2 separate regions of the Homo sapiens genome follow, and region 1 is linked to region 2. The links are contacts of gene promoters, found by promoter capture Hi-C in human tissues and cell types (Jung and others, 2019). All regions are on one chromosome and are shown on one strand. The core of a region is centred on a gene start or on the middle of the fragment in contact, and the rest is flanking DNA. Distances in the headings are between cores, read along the strand shown. Region 1 overlaps SLC6A15 (solute carrier family 6 member 15). Region 2 holds the start of TSPAN19 (tetraspanin 19).

The links. The method cuts DNA at HindIII sites, captures the fragments that hold promoters and counts their contacts. A contact is called where the count stands out against the background at its distance.
Region 1: a contact is called between a fragment that was not itself captured here and the fragment with the promoter of TSPAN19 in region 2, in 2 of the 25 tissues and cell types used here (hippocampus and mesenchymal stem cells).

The regions. Positions count from the first base shown.
Region 1 is chr12:84,892,875-84,899,788 of GRCh38, reverse strand. All of the region lies in intron 1 of SLC6A15 (solute carrier family 6 member 15), which reads left to right. It also overlaps the pseudogene LOC124903121. Among named protein-coding and RNA genes, the nearest start is that of SLC6A15, 16 kb to the left of the region's middle. The HindIII fragment of the contact is 5,533 bases long and covers 2,721-6,914 here.
Region 2 is chr12:85,033,134-85,039,444 of GRCh38, reverse strand. TSPAN19 (tetraspanin 19) reads left to right here and starts at 3,168. Exons shown (of 9, transcript NM_001100917.2): 1 at 3,168-3,241. It overlaps LRRIQ1 (leucine rich repeats and IQ motif containing 1), which reads right to left and starts at 3,094. Exons shown (of 27, transcript NM_001079910.2): 1 at 3,038-3,094; 2 at 1,137-1,292. The coding sequence starts at 1,268. The HindIII fragment of the contact is 3,053 bases long and covers 2,320-5,372 here.

The DNA of each region.
Region 1 (6,914 bases), core at 4,238-6,737, 140 kb after region 2:
AATGAGAGATTGAGAAAGAGGTAAATATAAGTTCAAATTTAAATACTGTAAAGTTCCCAACATATTTGTGTATTTATGTTCATATACATAGATAGATGAATGGAAATATAGCAGTAGTTTTTGATTCATAATTTGTAAGCCATTTGGGGTTCTTTGCAAGCTTTAGAAAGTGATGCTGGATAAGAGGCAAAGAAAAGTAATATTGGCAGTCACAGGAGCTCAAAGAAACAATGGGATGCTTGGCAATGAAATGGAAAAAGGAAAGAATGAAAATAGTTCTGAAAACTAGGAACCAATGTCCATGACTACGGTAGTATTTACAGCCTGGGCATAATGCCTTTGATGGAATTGGATGACATGCCTACTTTTTTATCACTTTGTGCCTCTCCTCAAGATTAAAACTCCAGGGAGGTGGAAACTAAGCAAATGCTGAATTTTTTCAAAGATAGTGGCAGTATTTTTTTTTCCTTTCTACGCATGCCTTTTGCAGTAGGGTTTTTTGTCCCTTCCATCAAAAAGTAAGGTTTATCTCTACTCTTGAATCAGTATGGACTTAGGTTTGAGACTTTCTTTGGTCAATGAGGCATTAGCCAATGTGAAATAGAGAGAGGCTCTAGTAGCACTTGTACATTGGGCTCACCTTTTCTTTTTGGCTACAGTTGGAAATCTGAGCTACAATATGAACAAGTTGCAGCTAGTATTTTGGAGAGATTACTTATAAGCAAACCAAAGTGCTCCAGCTGACAGCCTGACTTTTGCTAGAATGTCAGTTAGACCATATTAGAACACCTTCTTGGAACTGACAGATCACTGCAGTGCAGGACCGAATTCAAGAACAACTGATCATGTAAGCCTAGTTCACACTGCTAATTCAGAGAATCATGAAAGAATTAAATTGTTTTTCAAAGCCACTAAATATAAAGGAGATTTGATGTGCAGCCATGGATAACTGAGACAAACAAAAAGTTGTGTTAAGGAGAAAATTAAACATGCAGCATTGGCTCTGGACCTAACATTGTCCTTAATATTACAGAAGCATCTACAACAAATCAGTTATATTATAGTCTTAGTGTTGTGATAATCATAGTAATAAAAGAGAGAATATATTGAGTCCTCTCAGTGTGCTGACATTGACTTATGTACTTTATCAGTAGATAAGTATATTATTGTTCTCATTTTATAAATGAAGAAACTGAAGCACAGTTTAATAACTTGGCCAGGGTCATAAAATCATAAGTGACAGAGTTACAATTTGAACTCAGATAGTCTCTTTCTAAAATCTATGTATAAATATTTGGGACCAATACATGTCTTTTCACATCAAAACGTATTGATTCTTATAATGTCACATTACAATCAAATAAGAAAGATTATATGAAAACCTGAAGAGCTTGAGGTCATTATCCTCTTTTATATAATAAGTTGTTTTTTGTTTGTTTGTTTGTTTTTTAAGACAGATCTCACTCTGTCACCCAGGCTGGAGTGCAGTGGTACAATCTCAGCTCACTGCAACATCCACCTCCTGGCTCAAGTGATTCTTGTGCCTCAGCCAACCAAGTAGCTGGGACTAAAGGTGCATGCCACCAGGCCTGGCTAATTTTTGTAGTTTTTGGTAGAGATGGGGTTTCACCATGTTGGCCAGGCTGGTCTTGAACTCCTGGCATCAAGTGATCTGCCCATCTCAGCCTCCCAGTGCTGGGATTATAGGCATGAGCCACTGTGCCCAACCAAGTCATATTTACACAGTATCTATTACTTCCTACATGAAAGATGAGCATATTTTCACACTTTTATTTCTTTTTCTCCTCTCATTTCAATTTTTGATTTTTTTTGGTAATTTAATTCACAATTGTCCCCTGCACATAATTTCTATAAAAAGTAAACCATATTTCCTTGTTTAAATTAATGTTCACTTCTATTCTTCAACATGGCTCCTCTTTACTAAGATCTTTTACTTTGTTTTCTCTGTTTGGCTAAATTTTATGATTATGTAGTCTTTCCCTCCATACCCCACTCCTTCATCCCATAGGGCTCATCATTTCTCTTATGCTTAGGAATATTTGCCTGTGGCTTTTATAATCGGAATACAAATTAATTGGGTATAAAATTGGAGATCATATATTTTTCTCTTAGTTTTATTGAAATTAATGAATATTATGAGAAGTGTTTTAATTTCATCTATTAATAGATATTATGAGAAGTGTTTTAATTTGATCTTTCTACTTCTGCTTGAAATCCCTAGGAATTCTTATCTTGGTAATTTATCAGTGTTTACTCTTCTGTATTGTTATTATTTGCAAATACAAGTCTTCAAGCAAAACCTCTGCTTTTCTTTTAGTATTTTGTGTTTTATTAATTGTATTATTGTGTTTGGCTATACCAATTAGAAGTTTGTTGGATTACCTTTAGCTGACTTCAGTTTTCATTAGCTTTCTTCTAAATTACTTTAAGATATTTGTAACTTTTCATTTCTTTTTTGTGAACTTTCTTTACATCTGTCCTCCATGCCTCAGATATAGTTTCAGTAGTGTTTATTCTAGTTTCTGTTGTTTCTTTTTCTTTATTTTATTTTATTTTATTTATTTTATTTGAGACACGGTCTTGCTCCGTCACTCAGGCTGGAATGCAGTGGTATGATCTCTGCAACCGCTGCCTGCAAACTCTGCCTCCCCAGTTCAAATGATTCTCCTGCCCCAGCCTCCTGAGTATCTGGGATTACAGGCACCTGCCACCACACCCAGCTAATTTTTGTATTTTTTTAGGGGAGAGGGAATTTCACCATATTGGCCAGTATGGCCTCGAACTCCTGGCCTCAAGTGATCCACCCGCCTAGTGCTCCCAAAGTGCTGGGTTTACAGGCGTGAGCCACCACACCTGGCCTTCAGTTGCTTCTAATGTGACTTTTAGTCCTCTGATGAATTCTCCCATTTCTTGTGTTCATCCACTTACCTTTTTCTTTCAGTTAATCTTTTAGTTCACTTCCATGAAATTTATTTTAAATAAATGTTTTCTTTGTAACTCTGAAGCACATTGTTTCCTGGTGTATATTTATATTCTGTATATGTCTTTTGCTTATGTTTCTTCCTGTGTCCACTATCACCTCTATCTTTCCATTTCCATACACATATTTTTCATTATTTGGAACTACGCATTTTCAATAGGGAAATTTCTATATTGGAATATTTTTTGACATGGGAAGTAGTGCCATACAAATTGAGTGAGCTGGGGAACTCCACATTTTCAATTTAGATTTATTCTCTGAAAGAGAGGTTGGCAAATGTTTTCAGTGAAGAGTTAGTAAACATTTTAGGCTTTACGGTCCATAACAATAACTCTGTTGTTGTAGCACAAAATCAGCCATAACAAAATGTAAATCTACGGGCATGGATACGTGCCAACACAATCTTTTTTTTTTTTACAAAATACAGATGGTGGGTTGTATTTGGTCCATGAGCAATATTTTATGGGCATGGATACATGCCAATACAATCTTTTTTACAAAATACAGATGGTGGGTTGTATTTGGCCCATGAGCAATATTTTGTTGACTCCTGCTCTATTGTACAGTTGTAGACAGGAGGCTCTTACCAAATAATGATGAGGACAAGTATTACAACTCTTCGGTGCAGATGAAGTGCAGTGAGTGATAGCTTGTTCCTTAGTTGATTGTCTATCACAAGAATGGATGCTGCTAAGTTGGCAGAGATTGTGCTGTTACTTGATACTGATTCCACTACTGTCCATATGACCTATCGAGCACTGATACTTTATCACTCTATCTCTCTTCCTGGACATTTCTCTTCATTTCTTCTTCTATTCTCAGATGTAACAATTGTAATACATTTTTGGCAATTGCCAACCTCTCTTTTGATTTTCTTTTTTGTCTATGTTTATGGACTACATTTATGGACTAAGTTTTTAGGCGGGCTTTTAGAATTTATAAAAATGGTTATCCTTCAAGAAAGTTACTCTTAAAAATGTGAAATTGATCTGGCTTCTAAATTATTGTTGCTATACTTAGTTTTAATAAATCTCTTCAGAAACTAAATTTATCTATTTACTTTTGGCTGTATGAAAACTGTGCACAAGAAGTCAATTCTTATGTTCAGTGGGTGCATGGTCTTAAAGTAAAAATACAAACAAACTGGTCATGGTGGCTCACGCTTGTAATCCTAGCACTTTGGGAGGCCGAGGTGGGTGGATCACGAGGTCAGGAGTTCAAGACCAGCCTGACCAAGAAGGTGAAACCTCGTCTCTACTAAAAATACAAAAATTAGCCGGGCATGGGGACGGGTGCCTGTAATCCCAGCTACCCAAGAGGCTGAGGCAGAGAATTGCTTGAACTCGGGAGGCAGAGGTTGTGGTGAGCCGAGATCATGCCACTGCACTCCAGCCTGGGGGACAGAGTGAGACTCCATCTCAAAAAAAAAAAAAAAAAAAAAAAAAAAATACAAACAAAAATGAAAACATCTAAGTGCAAAATACTTGTTTAGTTATATGATCTTATTCTTTAAACCTTTCGGTTCATTCATTCAACAGACAAGTTTAAACATTGGTAATATGGGGGTGAGTAAGATAAACAATGTCATTCTCAAGGCAATAACTTATTTTCTCCCAGACTTACATGTTATTGTGAATATTTTAATGTTAATTACAATTCTTCCCCTATCTTCCTACAACCACCCCAGACAGACCAAGAAGTGGGACAGGGTAAGAAAAATAGTAAGAAAAGAGAGCTTAGATAATTTTATTTATAATATCATTAAGGATTCATTATAGTTTTTTGCTCATATGAGAAAAGGAGCTTTTAATGCATGCAAATACCCACTTCAACTCCCTTTTTAATAAGTATTTTATTTTATAAAGTTTGGCTAGAGTTGTTATACGATATCTGTAGTATATATTTATTTATATTCAAAGTGTTTATGATATAATATTACATTTAAAATTTGTTTACATTAGATACTGATTTTTTAAAATAGAAAATATGACCTTCAGGTAGTTTGATCAGAATATTTGAGTGTAAACTTTGCCAAAGGATAACTTATGTAAATTGGTGAGGATTATTCACTTGGTGTGTAAAAAACATGCAGTAGTAGCCAAAGGTATTACCTTTTATTTTGATTTTTGTGTGTGTATTTTTTGTCCAAAGAATATAAATGTATAGAAGAGATATAGTATTTTCCGTAAAAATTTGGGGGAGATTCATGGTTCACACTATTTAAAATTTTTTTTCTTTGTAAAATGTTGAGTGTTTTTACTATAATAGTATCTCTAAGCTTGGATACACTCCTTACTTTTCTGTCTGTATGGAAAAAGCAAAAGGAATAAGAAACCAAAGTTTATTGTGGGAACTGAGGTTAAGAGAGGCATAACTATCAGCATTTACACAATTAATAAGTTATAGTGCTAGGACACAACTCCAAATTTGTCAGACTAAAATCCATGCTCTTATCCATATATCACTTGCTACTATGCCAACACATTTTATCTTCAGATAATTTAATAAATGTAAATCTTTTTTCTGGATAATTCATGTCTTACAAATCACAATTTTTTATATGTCAGGTTGTTTTCTTCCAGCAAATACCATCTAGAAATTTGTTTATTTCAGTTTTTCAATGGCTATATTTATTAATGTATTCAACTAATATTTACTGAGCTGTAGGGGAAAATAATATAAATTAAACAGACAAAATGTCAAACCTCATGAATTATTTCCATATCAAAACTTTGTTGGCCTCTGTGAAATAGTCACTGTGATCGCTTCTCGGCCTTTTTGCTAAGATCAAGTGTAGTATCTGTTCTTATCAGTTTAAAATAATCACTGTGGGAAGTTTTACACCTATTCTGGAGATGTGTCTATCACTCAAAATATTTTGGGAATGCATCTCTTTCACAATTTTCTAAACAGTTTTCTCTTAATCTTCACCAAATCCTAAACGAGAAGTGTTTGCTCTTAGGGTATATATTTTAATTTTAAAACAACTAAACATCATCCCAACCTAAAGGCAACAAATTAGTTACATAGTAAGTTAAGTAATTTTTTTTCCACTGGGTTACCCAACACTTTGTCTTGCTCATTAAGATTATAGATTGAAATATGATAGCTGTTTTCTTTGACTTTTAATGTCAATCTAATAGCAGTTCTCTTAATAAATTCTATTTTATTCCAGAAATGAAGGGCGGAATTCTTGGGCTACCATTTCATAAACTTCCTAATTCAGATTTGAAGAGAAGCAGTCATATTTTTCAGTCACATTTTAACATAGTGTCGCTGGACTGTAGACATGTCTTATATATTTACTTGGTCTGTGTCTGAGTGGGGAAAAGGATAGGAGACGTAACATACAAATAAAGAAAGGAAAAAAAAAATCCCAAAGGGATTACAGTGTTTTTCCTGAGCTGTTAAGAGACTGATCACATATATAATGTACATTTTGAGCATTTCTTGTCTCATTTATACTTTTCCTTATGATTGGGTATGACCTCACTCCATTTATGCTCAACTCTAATTTTATCCAACATTCCTGATCTTTCCTGTTGTAATAATGTTGGGTCATTTAAATTCTGCACTACAGAATTGTTATTTGATGTACCTTTCTCTCTATTAAATATAAGATCCTTAAAAACATGCTTTGTACGTTTCATTGATTATTGTATCCCATAAAGCCTCATCACAATAAATATCAAATGGGTTGGGTGAGATCACTTATGCAATATAATCCCAGCACTTTGGGAGGCCAAGGCGGGATCCCTTGAACCCAGAAGTTCGAGATCTGCCTAGGCAACATAGTGAGACTTCATCTCTACAAAGAAAAGAAAAATAAAATTAGCTGGGTGTGGTGGTACACACCTGTAGTCCCAGCTACTTCTGGGACTGAGGCAAGAGGATCTCTGGGAGAGGTACAGGC
Region 2 (6,311 bases), core at 1,919-4,418:
TCTGTCCTGCATTGAGATTTCTATTTCTTGTTTAACTAAGAAATAGAATTCTAAGCTACCTGGATTGTAGAGATTGTTGTTATGTCTTGGGAAATATAGTTCATAATCTGTAAATCCTTAGTTAATAATTTTTTCCCCTGGTAATAATACTTACACTGATTCTAAGTGATATAAATAATAGTGAGGTATCTTAATTGAAACAGAAGGGCTTTAAAATTTTCTTCTTCCTTTATATAAAAAGGTATAATAAAATATAAAACAATCCATTATTCTGTTGGATTTCATACTCAAATAAAGAATTTCAGATTTTTTTGCCTCATTTAAATGAGCTCTGGATAAAAGACATAATAATGTAACAATGTTAATTTTTCTAAATGTAATAGGTAGGTTTAGTGCAATCCTAATAAAATAACAAAGTTCTCAAATCTTTAAAAAATTTTCTTTTTCAAAAAAAGCTTAGTTAAGATTTTCAAATGATAAAAAGATGTGAAGAATTTGGTCCACTCAATATTTACAAATATACAACAGTAGGAAAATAATGAATAAAGTAATGGAAAAGAACAGACAGCCTTGGATAGATCATATGTACAATAACTATCAGTAAGACATATGATAAATCAATTGAGAAAAATTAGATTATTAAACAAGAGACACTGGAAATATTAGCTCAATATGTGCAGGAGATTTTCAAATTAGTTCTACATTTCATAACATTCCTGAAAATAAATTCCAGTTGGATTAAGGATATTGGTATAAATGAATAAATCTATGAATAAACTCTGAAGCATATAAACATTGGTAAATATACACAAATAAAAGGATAATTTGTTTTATTTCCAAAAGTAACCATTTTGATATGTCAAAAGATTTCATATACATTTTTCTTCCCATGTAATTTAATCATGCTAAAATGTTCACAAGTAAAAACAAAAATCAGGATATAAATATATATAATGATAATCCCAATTTTACGAAGATGTATAGGTGACTATATATATTCAATATAATTTATATTTATATAAATTGTTTATAACAATGCTGCTAAAAATGAGAAGTACATAAAAACATCCTGAGAAAAGTAATATTTCTCCTGAAAAGCCTACTCCTGTTAAAAGGCTCAAAAGTGCAATACTCACTGTATCACTATCATCACTCTGGGTTTCTGATTTTGCATCACTCTCAATGTCTTCTTTTTCCAAGGAGGAAATGCTGAGTTTATCCAATTCAGCTTCTATTTCTGCTTTGAGCTTTGCATCATCATCGTCCATTATTCTTCATAATAAAGCACAGAACTGCTTTAAAAAATGAAGAGGCTAATATGTCACTAAAAATTATGTGTTCTCTAATTTGTCATACCAATCCAACATATTTATTTAAATATGTTTTAATTTAACAAACTTTTATCACACCTTATTATGGTTACACCAAACATTGTTTTATCTCTTCAATCATTCTTTTTAAACTTTGACTACAAAATGATCAACTGTAATTGTACGCTAATACTCTTATTGATTTATATGTTTATATAATTTTACTATATATAATAAAGATCAGAATTGTTTATAAAATTTTTGTTTCAGTTATTAATACATATAAATGTAGGTATGTATGCATGAGTTGCAATGTAATATGTGTTGTTGTTAATGTTCTGTTTTTTATTTTTCACTGTTGGTCTTAGTCCCAAAAAAGGTTTGAAAACGTACTAGTCAGCTATCATTTTATTTTTCATGACACTAGTTTAAACCTTTCTTTCTTTACTCAAGGGCCTGACCTTTCCACCTGTCTTCTTGTTCTTTTCTTCATTCCTTCTTTCCATCCTCTTTCCCTTTCGTTAATTCCTCCTTTCACTCTACTCAATCATCTCAAAATCAGTTCTACCCATAACTTCCACCCTCACTCACTCACTCAAAAATAAAAAATAAAATAAAAAAAGGAAAAGAAAGAAAAGAAAAGAAAAACAAAGTGAAATGGAACTCCAGACAGAACCAGGGCAAAATATTATCCTGCAATGGAACTCAAAGTGCATTTAAAAAGCTTTATTAGAAGGAAAGCTAGATTTTTTTTTTATGCCTACAAAGCAAAATGCACGGGTATACTAAACTTTATATAGAAAGAGAGGCAGGAGAGTATGGTGGAGGTAAGAGTCATTTCCTTTACATGACTTTCTCTGTTCATCTACTGGCTCATTAGATCACCCCTGTCCAATTACATATTTGAGCACTTACGCAAGTTTAAATTTTCTATTAGCAACTTTTTAAAAACAAAAGAGAAGTGCAATTAATTTTTATAATATATTTTATTTAACCCAATATATCCAAAATATTTCAACGTGTAATAACAAAATTAATTATTAATATCATTGCAAAGAGTTTATATTCTTTCTTTGGACAGTAATTCTTAGAAATCTGTTGTGTGTTTTACACCTGCAGCACATCTCAGTTAGGATTAGCTGCATTTCAAGTCCTCAGTAGCCACCTGCAGTTAGTGGTTACTGTATATGACGTGCAGTCATGGATGGGTCTCACTGTAAATGGGCTACATTAAAGTGCTCTAAGTTGATAACGAATCACTTGGAGTTCACTAAAGCTGTCAAAAGTAGAAAAGCTTAAGGAACTCCCCCTTCAACCCCTGTAAAGAAAGGGGAGAGAAATCTACTTTATAAGGTTCATATAAATTATATATTACCAAAAAAAAAAGAAAGAAAGAGAGACAGAAAAAGAAAGGGTGGAAAGGAGGGCGACAAGAAGGGAAGGAAGGAAGGAAAATAACGTCAATTGGTTTGTGGGGAGCGGTGAGTGAGTAACCATCGAATGATCCCTACATAGCCAAGACATCTCTTTAAGTTTTGAATGAGTTCTCGAAATCTCCAGGGTGGAAGGGAGCCTCGAGCTTCGCAGAGTCGCACAGCCATCCCCTGACCCGCGGTCTCTCCCTTTGCTGGAAGTCTGGCCAGGCAGAGAGAGTCCCGGCTCGGCCTGAGCTCCCACAGCTGTTCACCTCCCTCAACGGGAATCCCAGTCTTAAGACCCCGGCTCACCCCTCAGCAGCGAGATTCCTTGGCTTTGTTGTAAGACAGCGCCCATAGCCGCTACACAAAGCGTATCCATGGCAACAGCCAATCACAAGGAAGAGACACCGGTTTTTCCCTACAGGTGCTCTAGAAGGACAAACAATCTCGATTCTAAATTGAAACGAACGCAGCATTTCAGGGACTGGATGAGGAGCTTACGGTTTTTTACAGGTAGATTTTAATATTTAAGTAACTTTGGAAAATACTTAATAAAATGAAATTTTGTTATAATTACCCAAGTAGATGTAATCTCACTTTTAAATTTTTTAAATTGTTTCTGAGCTACATATATTTATATTTCCATCTGGTGATTTGCCCATGTATAAGGTGTTCATTCCACAAACCCTTAATCCTGAACAGTGATTTGTGGGACATAGAAGTATGGAAGAGAAGTCAATAAGTTGTTTGCCTTCCATGACAACAGTTTTTTAAAAAAGAAAAGAAAAGAAAAAGGAAAAAAGAAAAAAATCATCAATCAATGCCCATCAAAAACCTCTAACTGAAGGGATGTGGGTGAGAAATTTGAAAAATTATTTTCTGGAGTTATTTTACTGTAAAAATATTGTCACACAGTATTTCAATATAAAACCTTAATTTCTAAGTTTATGTCATGCTATTTAATTTTAACTTAATTTATTAAAGTTTTTTGTGGAGCAAATACATAGGGTACAAAATAATATTTTAATTAATAACATATTTTTTACTTTAATTTTCTTTTAAAGTTTGCAAATAAGGCATTAAATTCTAAAAGGAAGTAGCCATAATTGTAAAAGGTATCTGCTATAAAATAAGCTAAAAGCAAATATTTCACTGAGCCTCTGGAAAAAAAATAGACTACATTTCCTGGTAACAATAAACTTGAATTGCATCAACATAAGAACTAATAATATAAAGTGAGACGTTAATAGATTTCTCATATTAAAAGCACACATGTTAGTTTCCTTTTCAGGAAAGATGATTTTAAAAAATAAACTACACTTGGTTTCAGGTCTAATTAAATTCAGAGTATTTTCATTATCAAAGTCCATGCTCAAATGGAATTTGTTCTTTTTTTTAAGTTTGGTTTTATTGCTGATTTATAGACTATTGAAATTATCTATTTTTTATTGTTTTTTTAGAGACAGGGTCTCCCTCTGTTGCCCAGGCTGGAGTGCAGTGGTACAATTATTGCTCACTGTAGCCTCCAACTCTTGTACTCAAGTAATCCTCCCGCCTTGGCCTCCCAAAGCACTGGGATTATAGGTATGAGCTACTGTGTTCGAACCTCAAACTGTTCATTTAAAATAGACTTTCATATTGTGTTGAAGTTCACATAAGAATCTTAAGATTAGTTTTATTTTTGATTGTGAAACTATCCAGACTTCTAAAAATTATAAATCCTTTAATAATTTCAAAATTAATTTTGAATAACTAGTTTTCATAATCAAATAATTTTGGAAATAATGCCTTAGTTCCTTTCCTTCTCAAAGCTTACTTTGTCAAATATTGACAGCAAAAAAGAAAAACAGTGAAAGATTTTCTGAAGATAAATTAATTCATGGTGATAGATCTCCTATATTGTCATGCGATTTTTTACTTTGGAAGAAAGGACAACTTTATCAATTAGTCATAATTTCGCTAGAATATAACTAATCAAAAATAAAAGGCAGCAGTTATCTAATACATTTGTAGATTATAAGTAAATTTAACTTGACACTGTTGTTTATCAACCATGTAGTATTTAGCAGAAGTCCATTTTAATTGCATTATTCCTAGAAACGGTAACTTCAGATTGAGTATGTTGGTTTGCCTATGACTCTTTAACCTGAGTAGACTTTTGTTTCTTTTGAACATGTTAACTTCATTTCATTTAAATTTTAAAAACAATTTGTAGGTGTGGTTGATTTATAGCATATTGGCTTAACAATGCATATTTCCTTTAGAGAGTACATAATAAATATTTATTGAGAGAATGAAAGAATGAGAGATAACTGTTTGTTCTTTGTTATCTGACAAGACTAATATTCCTTTGAAAATGTGTTGTAGTGAAATCATTTTAGTTTAAGAGCATTTTTCAACAACTGCTTTATTCTTCATATGGCAGTGATATAATTTAAATATCCCATAATATCATTGTTGTGTTCAAAATAGTTGCAGAGCAGGTATTTCTTTGTTTCATTTTCTTGAGGCACCGTAATTATTGAGTAAAAGTAATTTACTATGTAGCTCATAGTACCACATATTGTATTCTTAGGCCTCTCATTCTCTTGTTCCACTTAAAGTGTGTCTCAAGCCTTCAGATTCTCTAACTCTCTTTGTGCTCCCTCCCAGCTGCTGTCATGACCAACCACTTCACAGAAAAATGAGAATTTATGACTTTCCCACAGTTTCCATCCCATTCCCCATTCTCACATGCATGACTCTTGTATAATCTTAATATTTCTATACTGAGATATGATATAACGAGATTCTAGCCTTATGATATAACGAGATAACTAACATCTAGCCAGGCACTGGGCTAAGAGCTTTACAAACATAATCTCATCTAATTTTCACAACATCTCTTTGAGGCATGTACTATTACAATCTGCATTTACAGATGATGATACTGGGGCTTGGGAAAGTTATTGAGAGGGTGGTTTATATCAATGGAGTTAAATCTCATCTCTGCCATTTATTAACTAAGTGACCTTTGGCAAGTAATTTTGCCTTGCTGAGTCTTTCTCTCCTCATTGATGATATTGGGGATAATAGCATTTGCAAAATATCGACGATAAAGGGAATCAATTTAAATGAGACAATGTAGAATATGAGATAATGTTCAAAGTTTAATTACATCATTTCTACAGACTACATTCCATCTTTGATTCTTTGGTTATCCCAATGCTGGCAATTCTACTTCCTACTACATCTCTCATATTGTGATACTGTTTCCATTCCCACAGCCATTTATAAATTATCCCCCTATCTTAAGTGTCTTTTCTAATTTGGCTTCCACATTGAGGCCAGAATTACGACTCCCTATTACCTTCAGGAAAAAAAAAATCTTTAGTAAAGCATATAAGATTTGTCACAATCTTTACTGAGTCTACTTCTTTAGCTTATCTTTCATCTCTTGCCACTCTGATCCATGCCTCCTTACACCTCATTATAAAGCTTCTGAACATAGTGTTCCCTCTGTCTTGAATATTTCCTATCTCTCTCCCATTTTTATCTAACTAGGACCTTCTTAATCTTCCTTCAAGAGTCATCTCAAAATCAT